Linked DNA regions of Homo sapiens: all the other regions are linked to region 1. Evidence: promoter capture Hi-C in 16 types of primary human blood cells and fetal thymus (Javierre and others, 2016). All regions are on one chromosome and are shown on one strand. Each heading gives the region's core, a stretch centred on a gene start or on the middle of the fragment in contact. The rest is flanking DNA. Distances are from core to core; before and after follow the strand shown. Region 1 overlaps RNF121 (ring finger protein 121). Region 2 holds the start of ANAPC15 (anaphase promoting complex subunit 15). Region 3 holds the start of NUMA1 (nuclear mitotic apparatus protein 1).

The links. Contacts are between HindIII fragments. The CHiCAGO score rates a contact against its expected background, and 5 or more counts as called.
Region 2: the fragment with the promoter of ANAPC15 here is called in contact with a fragment that was not itself captured in region 1 in 3 of 17 cell types (naive B cells, activated CD4 T cells and naive CD8 T cells); the score reaches 6.2 in naive B cells.
Region 3: the fragment with the promoter of NUMA1 here is called in contact with a fragment that was not itself captured in region 1 in 3 of 17 cell types (naive B cells, naive CD8 T cells and total CD4 T cells); the score reaches 5.7 in naive B cells.

The regions. Positions count from the first base shown.
Region 1 is chr11:71,939,401-71,942,508 of GRCh38, forward strand. All of the region lies in intron 1 of RNF121 (ring finger protein 121), which reads left to right. Among named protein-coding and RNA genes, the nearest start is that of RNF121, 12 kb to the left of the region's middle. The HindIII fragment of the contact is 4,567 bases long and covers 1-3,108 here.
Region 2 is chr11:72,111,445-72,114,552 of GRCh38, forward strand. ANAPC15 (anaphase promoting complex subunit 15) reads right to left here and starts at 1,251. Exons shown (of 6, transcript NM_014042.3): 1 at 1,206-1,251; 2 at 1-52. RefSeq lists enhancers at 521-1,058, 730-899, 1,059-1,596, 1,070-1,129, 1,230-1,289 and 1 more and a silencer at 1,260-1,477. The HindIII fragment of the contact is 5,139 bases long and covers 1-3,108 here.
Region 3 is chr11:72,078,974-72,082,081 of GRCh38, forward strand. NUMA1 (nuclear mitotic apparatus protein 1) reads right to left here and starts at 1,569. Exons shown (of 27, transcript NM_006185.4): 1 at 1,485-1,569. It overlaps LRTOMT (leucine rich transmembrane and O-methyltransferase domain containing), which reads left to right and starts at 1,877. Exons shown (of 9, transcript NM_001145310.4): 1 at 1,877-1,912. LRRC51 (leucine rich repeat containing 51) reads left to right here and starts at 1,877. Exons shown (of 6, transcript NM_145309.6): 1 at 1,877-1,912. RefSeq lists enhancers at 980-1,935, 1,655-1,924, 1,936-2,890. The HindIII fragment of the contact is 5,366 bases long and covers 1-3,108 here.

The sequences.
Region 1 (3,108 bases), core at 315-2,814:
GATTTGCACCGCCCCCCGCAACTTCCCTCCACCCCTATGGCCTGGGCAGTTTCTTGACTCTTAAAGTGAATATGAAGATTTTAATATCTTGATTTGCATGATTTTGTGGGGTGTTCTGGGTCAAGTTAATAGCCAACCATTTTCACAGATCATCTTAGGCTGCTTACTGGAAGAGGAAAAGCTAATTCTATTTTAATACTGTTATCTTAATTTTCCAGATGAGAAAAACTGAGACACAGAAAAGTAATTTATTCAGGGTCACACAGCTTGTAAGTGGAGGTGGGATTTGAACATGGTGATACAACCTCATGTCTTCATGTTATAGTGTACACTATTGCTGGTATACACTATGACATGGATTCATTATTTTCAAAAGTCACTATGTATTTATTGTGCACTTAATTATGCCAGGTACTCTTTTTAGTCTTGGGAATTAATAAATGGACAAAGAGACTATCTCTGCTCTAAAGAAGTTATGGTCTAGTTGGGAGAGGAACCCATCAAGTGATAATGACAATATAGTATGAGGAGTAGAGTTATAAATTACGTACAAGATGCCACAAGTGTACAGAAGAAGGAGTGCTTAAGTCTATTTGGGAGCATTAAAGAAGACTTCCGATAGGGTATGGCATTTAGGCTGATTCTTAAAAGTTTATCATGTGGATAGGAGGCCACTTTAGGCCAAGGTAAAAGCATATGTATAAAGGAATAAAGACATGAAGTCTCTAATCCTTGAGCATATGATTCCTCACTAATGATATATTTACTGATAACTGCATGCTTTGTGCAAGTCACTATGTTAGGGATTTGGGTTGAGAGAAAACCATGTTTCTTGCATTCAGGGAATTTACAGTCTAGTTAGAAAAATAAGACATGTAGTCCAGTTGGAAAGATAGTGGCCATAATTCTAAAATAAGAAGTACTAAATGTTTTTTTCCGGTAGAAAAAAACAAAGTACTGTAGGGGAAGTACCCTCTCATGGATATGGCTAGGGAAGACTTCTTGGAGAGGGAGCCATTTGAGTTCGGCCTTCATGGATGATTTGAATTTCATTAGAGCATTAGGAATGAACGCCCAAGGTCAATGTTGAGAAATGAGGATGTATTTGTGATTAGCAAGTAAGAGAAGAGTAAGAGCTAAATTAAAAAAGGTAGGTTGGGGCCAACATGAGGTTGACTTTTGAATGCCAGGCTGAGGAGTTTGGATACATTTATTCATTCCTTCAGTCACCAATTATTGAGTTCTGATATATGCTAGATACTGTGCTGGGGACACAAAGATGAAAATGTGGCTCCTGCTCTCACGAGATTAATAGTCCTGTGAGGTAAACCAGACATGGGAACAGATGGTTGTAGTATAGTGTCAGCATGTGTTAAGTACTGTGATGACACAAAGGAGGGAGTGATTAACTCTGCTTCGGGAATCCTTAAAGACTTAATGGAGAAGATGTTTTGAGTTTGTTCTTGAGGATTAAGTTGAGTTCAATAGGTAGTCAAAATCAGTGAGGTAAGGAAGAGTGAGTGGTCCAGCAAAATGAAAAGATATGCAAGGCTTGGAGACGTTAAACAGCGTGGAATATTCTGGGACTGTACGCAGTTCTGTATGACTGGAATTTAGGTTAAACGTAAGGGGATAGCAGTGAGTGACTGTGCTAAAAAGCCTGGGCTGTAGAGAGCCACTGAAGAGTCTTGAGCAGGGGAGTAATGTGTTTAGATCTCTGTCTCAGAATGACCAAGTCTAATTGAAGTTTGGAAGTTACTTTTGGAAGGATCAGGTTGGAAAAAGGAGAATAAATCAGTTAGGAGATATTGCAGTAGTTTAGGAGCGAGATGATGCGGACCTGAGCTTGAGCAAAGACAGTAGGGTAGAGAGAAGTGAGCAGCTATAAAAATGTTAAATAGCAGTGCTTTCACTTATTTATGTTTTGCCCTTTATTTCTCTCCCTAATTCGTTCACTCATGTATTCAGTAAACATTTATTAAGTTTGTGGTCTGTATTAATTATTCATTATTTCCTTCTTCAAATACTTGTGACTTCAGTGTCAAACATTTTTCTAGGTCCCAGTAATTCAGCAGTGAACAAGACAACTGAGGTCCTTGCTCATATTAGGTTTAGTTTCTAATGTGGTAAAGTAGATAACAAATAAACAGGATAACTCCAGATGGTGACAAATGCTTTGAGAAAAGTAATGTAATGTGATAAAGATGACTAGAAGAGAAAGGCTACTTTAAATAGGGTGATTATGGAAAGCCTCTGAGGAAATGCTACTTGAACCAAGTCCTGAATGGTGAAGACCTAGCAATTTCGAGATTTGGAAGCAGATATGTTCCAAGTGGAGGGAGAAGCAAGTACAAATTAATGGGAATGAACAAGGCATGTCCTGGGACCAAAAAGAAAGCCAGTGTGACAGATCATAATTAGCAAAGGAAAAATGGTTCTGTATGAGGTCAGGGAGTCTGGCAAGGTCAGATTTATAAGGCCTTGTAGCTGCTGTGATACATGTTGAATTTTATTGAGCGTGTAATGAGAATTTTTTTTTTTTTTTTTTTTGAGACGGAGTCTTGCTCTGTTGCCCAGGCTGGAGTGCAGTAGCGCGATCTTGGCTCGCTGCAAGCTCCGCCTCCTGGGTTCGTGCCATTCTCCTGCCTCAGCCTCCCGAGTAGCTGGGACTACAGGTGCCTGCCACCACGCCCAGCTATTTTTTTGTATTTTTTATTAGAGACGGGGTTTCACCATGTTAGCCAGGATGGTCTCAATCTCCTGACCTAATAATCCATCTGCCTCGACCTCCCAAAGTGCTGGGATTACAGGCATGAACCACCGTGCCCGGCAATGAAAAGATTTTGATTGGGTTTCAAAATGGGAGTGATGTGAGCTGATTTTCATTTTTTAAAAGATCTTTCTGGCTGCTTTGAGAAGAATGGATTGTAGGAGGTGACTCAGTGAGAGGGTTAGGAAGTTATGGTAATAGTCCATATGGGAGATGATAGTGTTTTGGATTCGGTGGGGGGTGTTTTAGTCCTTTTGGGCTGCTATAGTAAAATACCTTAGACTGGGTAATTTATAAACAACAGAAATTTAGCCGGGCACAGTGGCTCACGCCTGTAA
Region 2 (3,108 bases), core at 1-2,500, 170 kb after region 1:
CTGTTTGACCTTGGCTGAGTCACTTAACCTCTCTGAGCCTCAGTGTCTTCATCTGTAAAATGGGGATAATAACAATTATACCACTGTCAAAGTTATTCTGATAATTAAGTAAATAATGGATCAACAAAGCTGTTTGCAGGCTGTTCAAGGAGGGATGAGAATGGGAGTCAAGTGTAGGGATAGGAATCCAGAATGCAGACTGGCATTATGAAATTATACAAAATTAGAGGTAGCAGGGTTCTACTGAAACTATCCCTACCTCCTCCACACACTAAAACCTGCTTTTTGACCCTTTATGATGGCCCATACCACACCCACCCAGTGTCAGAAATTTAGGACACTAACGACCTCTCATGAATCACAGCCAAATGTCGGGGTGGAGGGATTGTAGCATATGCAAGCAGGGTTCAGTAAGACATTCTAGGAGGCATGAATAAGTGGATAAATAAGTAGATGGAAGATTGAATGGATGAACTAACATTATAAGGGTACAATCAGCTTTGAGCGGCTGAGGGAGCCGACCAGGAGTGCCAGATAATCTGAATTAAACTTAGGACAGGCGAACTGAGGCCCAGCGACAGGCAGAGACTGGCTTTAGGTCATACAGTGTGTCGGGGCTTAGAATTCCTCCGTGAAAGGGATGAGCAGGAGAAAATAATCGATGCCTGGTCCTGCTTTTGTCTTAATTTATCTGACCGACCCAGGGCCAGCCGCTGCCCTTCCCTGTATCTCAGATTCCCAACCCGCGTAATTAGGCACGACGGTAAACACCCTCATGTCCAAGAAGTACTGACAGACCAGCGATCTCGGCTCCGAAAGCCCAACCCACCGTCGCAAAGCCACCGCCCTTTCTTTGCTCATTACGATAATGACCATGCAGTTGACCAACAGAAAGAAAGCAGGGCGGGTCTCAGACAGAAATTTGGCCTTATAGGGTTGCTAAACGCGAAAAAAGCGGGGCCTGGGTAGGACCAATTAACTGAAAGAAATGCTGGGTGACAGGAAGTGACACCAATGAATGACGGACCTTGTGTGACGGGGTGGGGCTTAGTCTCGAGGAAGCGGCCAATGAGCTGGAGCTCTTTAAGGGTTAAGGACTCTCAATATGGAGCTCCTGGGGAGTCGGGTCAAAGGAAATGGGTTTCTCTGGGGGAAAAAGGAATGAAGGGGCAAGGAGACGGTTGCAGCCTTGCGTCTGTACTTACCGCGCCGGGAGGCTGCTGCCGGCGGCGACCCGGAAGCGCTTCACCCAGCCTGAGCGGAAGAACCCACCAGAATCCGGGACTCACCAAACGCATGCGTCCTTCGTCTCCTTTTGTTTTCCCCGCTCCCGCCCACTAAACCGGATGTGACGTTGACCTACCTTAGTCACATTGTTAGGGAAGGAAGTGTGCCGCGCCTACCTATCTGCCCCGCCTTGAGTCTCAGCCAGTCGGCGTCTCCATCCTGGCGCCAGCACTACGGTCTCGTTTAACCACTGCCCCGTTTAACCCCTGCCCTTTTGTTGCCAGTCACCATTTGCTTGTTAACCCCTTCTGAAGAAGAGCTGACAGCAACCTTTTAGTGCGAGGGCCATTCGTCCTGCTGCATCCCAGAAAACTAATCTGTTACTACTTCAGAATTGCTGGTTGATGTTAGGCCCCTCCTATCTGTGCTCTCTCAGCTACAGTTTCCCGTTTGAGCATATTCATTCTTTTTTATTTTTGCTCTGAACAAAAATATTAGAGTTACAATATTACTATATTCCAGGCCTTGCTAGAAACTGGGGATAAATCTAGGAATATGGTCGCTTCCCTGGAAGACCTCACAGTCCAGGGAAGCCAAACCCTGCAGACATGCAGTAGACTTAGTGGTCTCTCTTAAGGTTGCTTGTTGAGTTTTGACATTGGAGATTATGTACAGACTTGAATGACTAGTTAGCCTCAGGCACAGCATTCTGTTGCTGGGGGAATCAGCTGCCCTCCTCAGGCCTGGGCCAAGTACACTTAGAGATCGCCCTCGTCACCTCTCCCATCCTTTGCTGATGCCTCTGTTCTAGTAACCTCTGACTCAGCTTCGCCTTTAGAGATACTCATGCTTTCTGGCAACAGAGGTCCTTCAAACCCAATTCCTATTAAACTCCATCACTTACCAGCCTCTTTCAGGGACAGCAGTTATCCGCATTTCCAGTACTGTCCTGGCCAGATGTGTGAGTTTTGGCAATTCCTTTTCCTCTCTCTGGACTCAGCTTCTTTGTCAACCAGCATCATAATCTCTGCCCAGCCTTCCTTCTATCCTGGGCTGATGTGAAGATTGGATAAGAATTGTTCAAGAGGTCGTGTACTGTGCATATTGAATGTGATTATATTGCCAAATAGCACTGTTTGTTATAGTTTTTCATTAAAGAGTAAACTTTGCCTCTTGGAAATGACTACCTTTTTCATTCATTCAACAAATACCTACTGAGTGCCTTAGTATATGTCCATCACTATTCTTAGTAGTGGGTATACAATAGTAAACAAAACAGACCAAAAAAGTCCCTCTTTTCATGCAGCCTTCATTCTGAGAGAGGTAAACAATAAAGAAGATAGATAAATAAAATATGTAGTTGTAAGATTGCAGTAAATAAGAGAAAAAATAAATCTGAGAAGTGGGAATAAAATATTTGCAGGGGAGGTGTTTTATTTCAGACTGGGGGGCCAAAGTCACTGGGAAGGTGACTTTTGAGTAAAGGTCTGAAGGAGCAGAGAGCCTTCTGATATTTGTGGAAGAGCATTTCAGAGAGAGAGAATACAAGTGCAGAGGGCCTAGAATGGCTTGGGCATAGTGTCCTCTAGGGAGAGTAATAGGTAGGAGATGAGGAGTTGGGGAGCCAGTGGAGGGTTGTGAGCACAGGGTCCACACAATCTGATTTACAGTTTAACTGAGTTACTCTGGCTGTTCTCCAAATAGACTGGGGTAGGGGAGACAATGGCAGAAGCAGGGAGACCATTTGGGAGCCTATTATGATAATCTAGAGGTAGTGGATGAGAAGTGGTTGAATTCTGAATTTATTTAGATGGTAGAGACTACAAGGTTTGCTAACAGATGGACAATGCCAGAATAAGAAAGGAGCCACGATTTTTGGGC
Region 3 (3,108 bases), core at 319-2,818, 140 kb after region 1:
GAGAGAGGGAATTATGTATTAAAGCAAGAAAATATCATCACGTTTTCAAGAGGGAGTGCCATTCCAGTAAAGAGGACAGCTTAATACTGAGGTTCAAATGCCACTAAATGAAAACGGGAAAGCGAAATTCCTGTGCCCTTTCAGCCCAAGAAATTATTCCAAAGCATACATTTATTCCCATTACATGTCGCAAATCCTGCCTAGCCATTAGGATACAGTGACGAAAAAGTCTCTCGTTATCTAGAAGGGCAGACAAACACGCAGACTTTTAAAATACCAGATGGCAGGCCGGGCGTGATGGCTCACGCCTGTAATCCCAAGCACTTTGGGAAGCCGAGGCGGGCGGATCACGAGGTCAAGAGTTCAAGACCGGCCTGGCCAAGATGGTGAAACCCTGTGTCTACTAAAAATACAAAAGTTAGCCGGGTGTGGTAGCGGGCGCCTGTAATCCCAGCTACTCGGGAGGCTGAGGCAGGGAACTGTTTGAACCCGGGTGGCAGAGGTTGCAGTGAGCCGAGATCGCGCCACTGCACTCCGGCCTGGGCGATAGGGCGAGACTCCGTCTCAAAAAAAAAAAAAAATGACAAGTGCTAACTCAGAGGTAAGCAAAAGAGAGTACCCAGAGGCGGCAGCATCAACCCAGTGGGCTCCCGCCCACCCACAATCTTCACACAGTCACACCACTTATAGTCATAAATTTGTACTCTCCGAGGTGCGTGTATGAAACATGTTATCTGTGAGAGTCCATGGATGAAAAACAAAAACAAACAAAAATTAAAAAAAAAAAAAAAAAAGACTTAACCTGTTTTGACCAGGACAACCACCCCAGGAAGTAGGTAAGGCAGGTAAGGTCATTGTTTACATATATGAAAAGTGAGGCTCAAAATACACTGACCAGTCCAAGACAACGCGCGCCCCCACAAAGCACCTTCCCCGTCCCCATTTATGCCCAACCCATAAACCCAAAGTAGAGCCAACCTCGCACTGGCTACGTAACCCGGGCCAAGCTAAACATTATAAACCTCAGGCTCCCCATCTTTAAAGTATAACAGGTGGTTAGAAGATTAAAAAGATAAACATTTGGCAGGTCATTGTGGACGGTGTAGCTCAGAAAATGCTGACTACTGCACTACCATAACTACTGCTATTGTTAACGATAAAAGGCAAAGACTTTCCAGGACCCGACCCCTCGCTTACAAGCCTTTCGGGAACTTGCCCTATACCCCCGACCCCAGTCACCTTCAGATTTAATTCCACAGACACGCCCCCAAACAGACCCTCCCCTTTAAGGCACCCCCCCCCCCCCCGGCTCCTCCCTCTCAGGCGCCTCTCCTCACAAACCTTACCCCCATAGATTCTGCCCTTTCGGACTCGGTTATGGAGGAGGCCTTCCGCTCGCAGCGGCCTCTCCAGCACCCCTTTTAGGCCTGAGCACCCGCAGGGGTGCCCAGGCCGCACGCCAAACGCGGGCCCGCGCCGGTTACCTGGCTGCGCGCTCCCGCTCTGCCTCGCGATTCTCCGGAATCGTACCTCTTCGTGGGCTCGCGCCAGCGCTGTGAGCGCACAATTAGTTTAAACTATGGCCCCGCCCCCTCGCGCTGCCCTCTGATTGGCCTCTGTCGGCGGGGCCCGCTTAAGGACCCGGGAAAAGGAAGTTTGAGGGCCACTGGGAAAGAGAAGGGGTATCACCGCTTCCGGACCCCGGCCTGTACTTGAAGGCAAAGAGAACTACAAATCCCAGCGTCACCCGCGGCCTTGAAGCCCCGCCCCTGACAAACTGAAGGTCCCGGTAAGCATCGCGTCAGTACTTATGGCGCCTGCCGGGTTGTGGTGACGAAAGCAGTTGCCATGGAGTTGCTCTGAGTAACCCTGAGGCAGTGGGACGCCAAGACTGGAGAGGAAGCGACTGCGGGTGAGTCGGGCGGGAAAACAGGAAACCCGTTCTAGGGGACAAGAGATCTATGGAGAAGGGAGGGGCACTCACAGAACGACTAAGAACCTTCCTGCTCGGGGATCTGAGATTTCCCCCACCGACCCTCATCACCTTTCACAGCGAACAAGATACAACACTCACATGGGACAGACTGGGCGAGGGGGAGCAGAGGGAGGGATAGGCGTTGAGATATATATCCATACAGATTTGGGGATGCTTAAGAACCACCCCCAGGGCCGGGAGCGGTGGCTCACGCCTGTAATCCCAACACTGGGAGACCAAGGCGGGCGGACCACTTAAGGCCAGGAGTTCGAGACCAGCCTGAGAAACATGGCGAACCCTGTCTCTACCAAAAACATAAAAAAATTAGCCGGGCTTGGTGGCGCGCTCCAGTGGCCCCAGCTACTAGGGAGGCTGAGGTAGAAGGATCGCTTGAGCCCGGAGATTGAAGCTGCAGTGAGCCGTGATCACGCAACTACACTCCAGCCTGGGCTATAGAGCGATACCTCCATCTCAAAACAAAACAAAACGAAACAAAACAAAAACAAAACAAAACAACGAACCCCGCCCCCAACGCAAACATAAAGCTCCCAAAATCGGATGCTTCAAGTTCCAGGCATAACCTGGGAGATCAGAAACGCCCTCAGAAATGGGGTTGGTTTTCCTCTGAGGAACTGAGACCCTCTTCCAAGACATGCGGTTAGCATTAGATTGAGTAAATCGCAGTCGCTACCCTAATTCTAGAGATGTAGGAAACTTCCTGGGGCGTGAAGTGCCTCATTCCTTCTTCTTCCAAGGAGTAAAACCCCTTCTCAATCTGTCCCCAGATTCCCTTTTCTCCCCACACCTTCTCCGTGGTCCGCTACTCAAAGCTCTACAGTTAGAGCTTCATTTTTTTTAGTACTCACGACAGATCTATTACATTTAGTAACCTACCCAGTGCTTTCACAGTCTCTCTTTTGATACTCTTAACAGCTCTGTGAGTCAAGGATATTTATCTTCATTTCACAGATTGGAAAACTGAAACCCAGAGAAAAGGGACTTGCCCAAGGCCACACACCAAATTAGTGACAGAGCTAGAACTAGACTCCAGTTCTCCGACTTCCAGCTAAGTCTCTTTAGCTTCAGCCTACTGCCTCTATAGCGGAAGGACTTGTTCCAAGGAACAAGTTAAA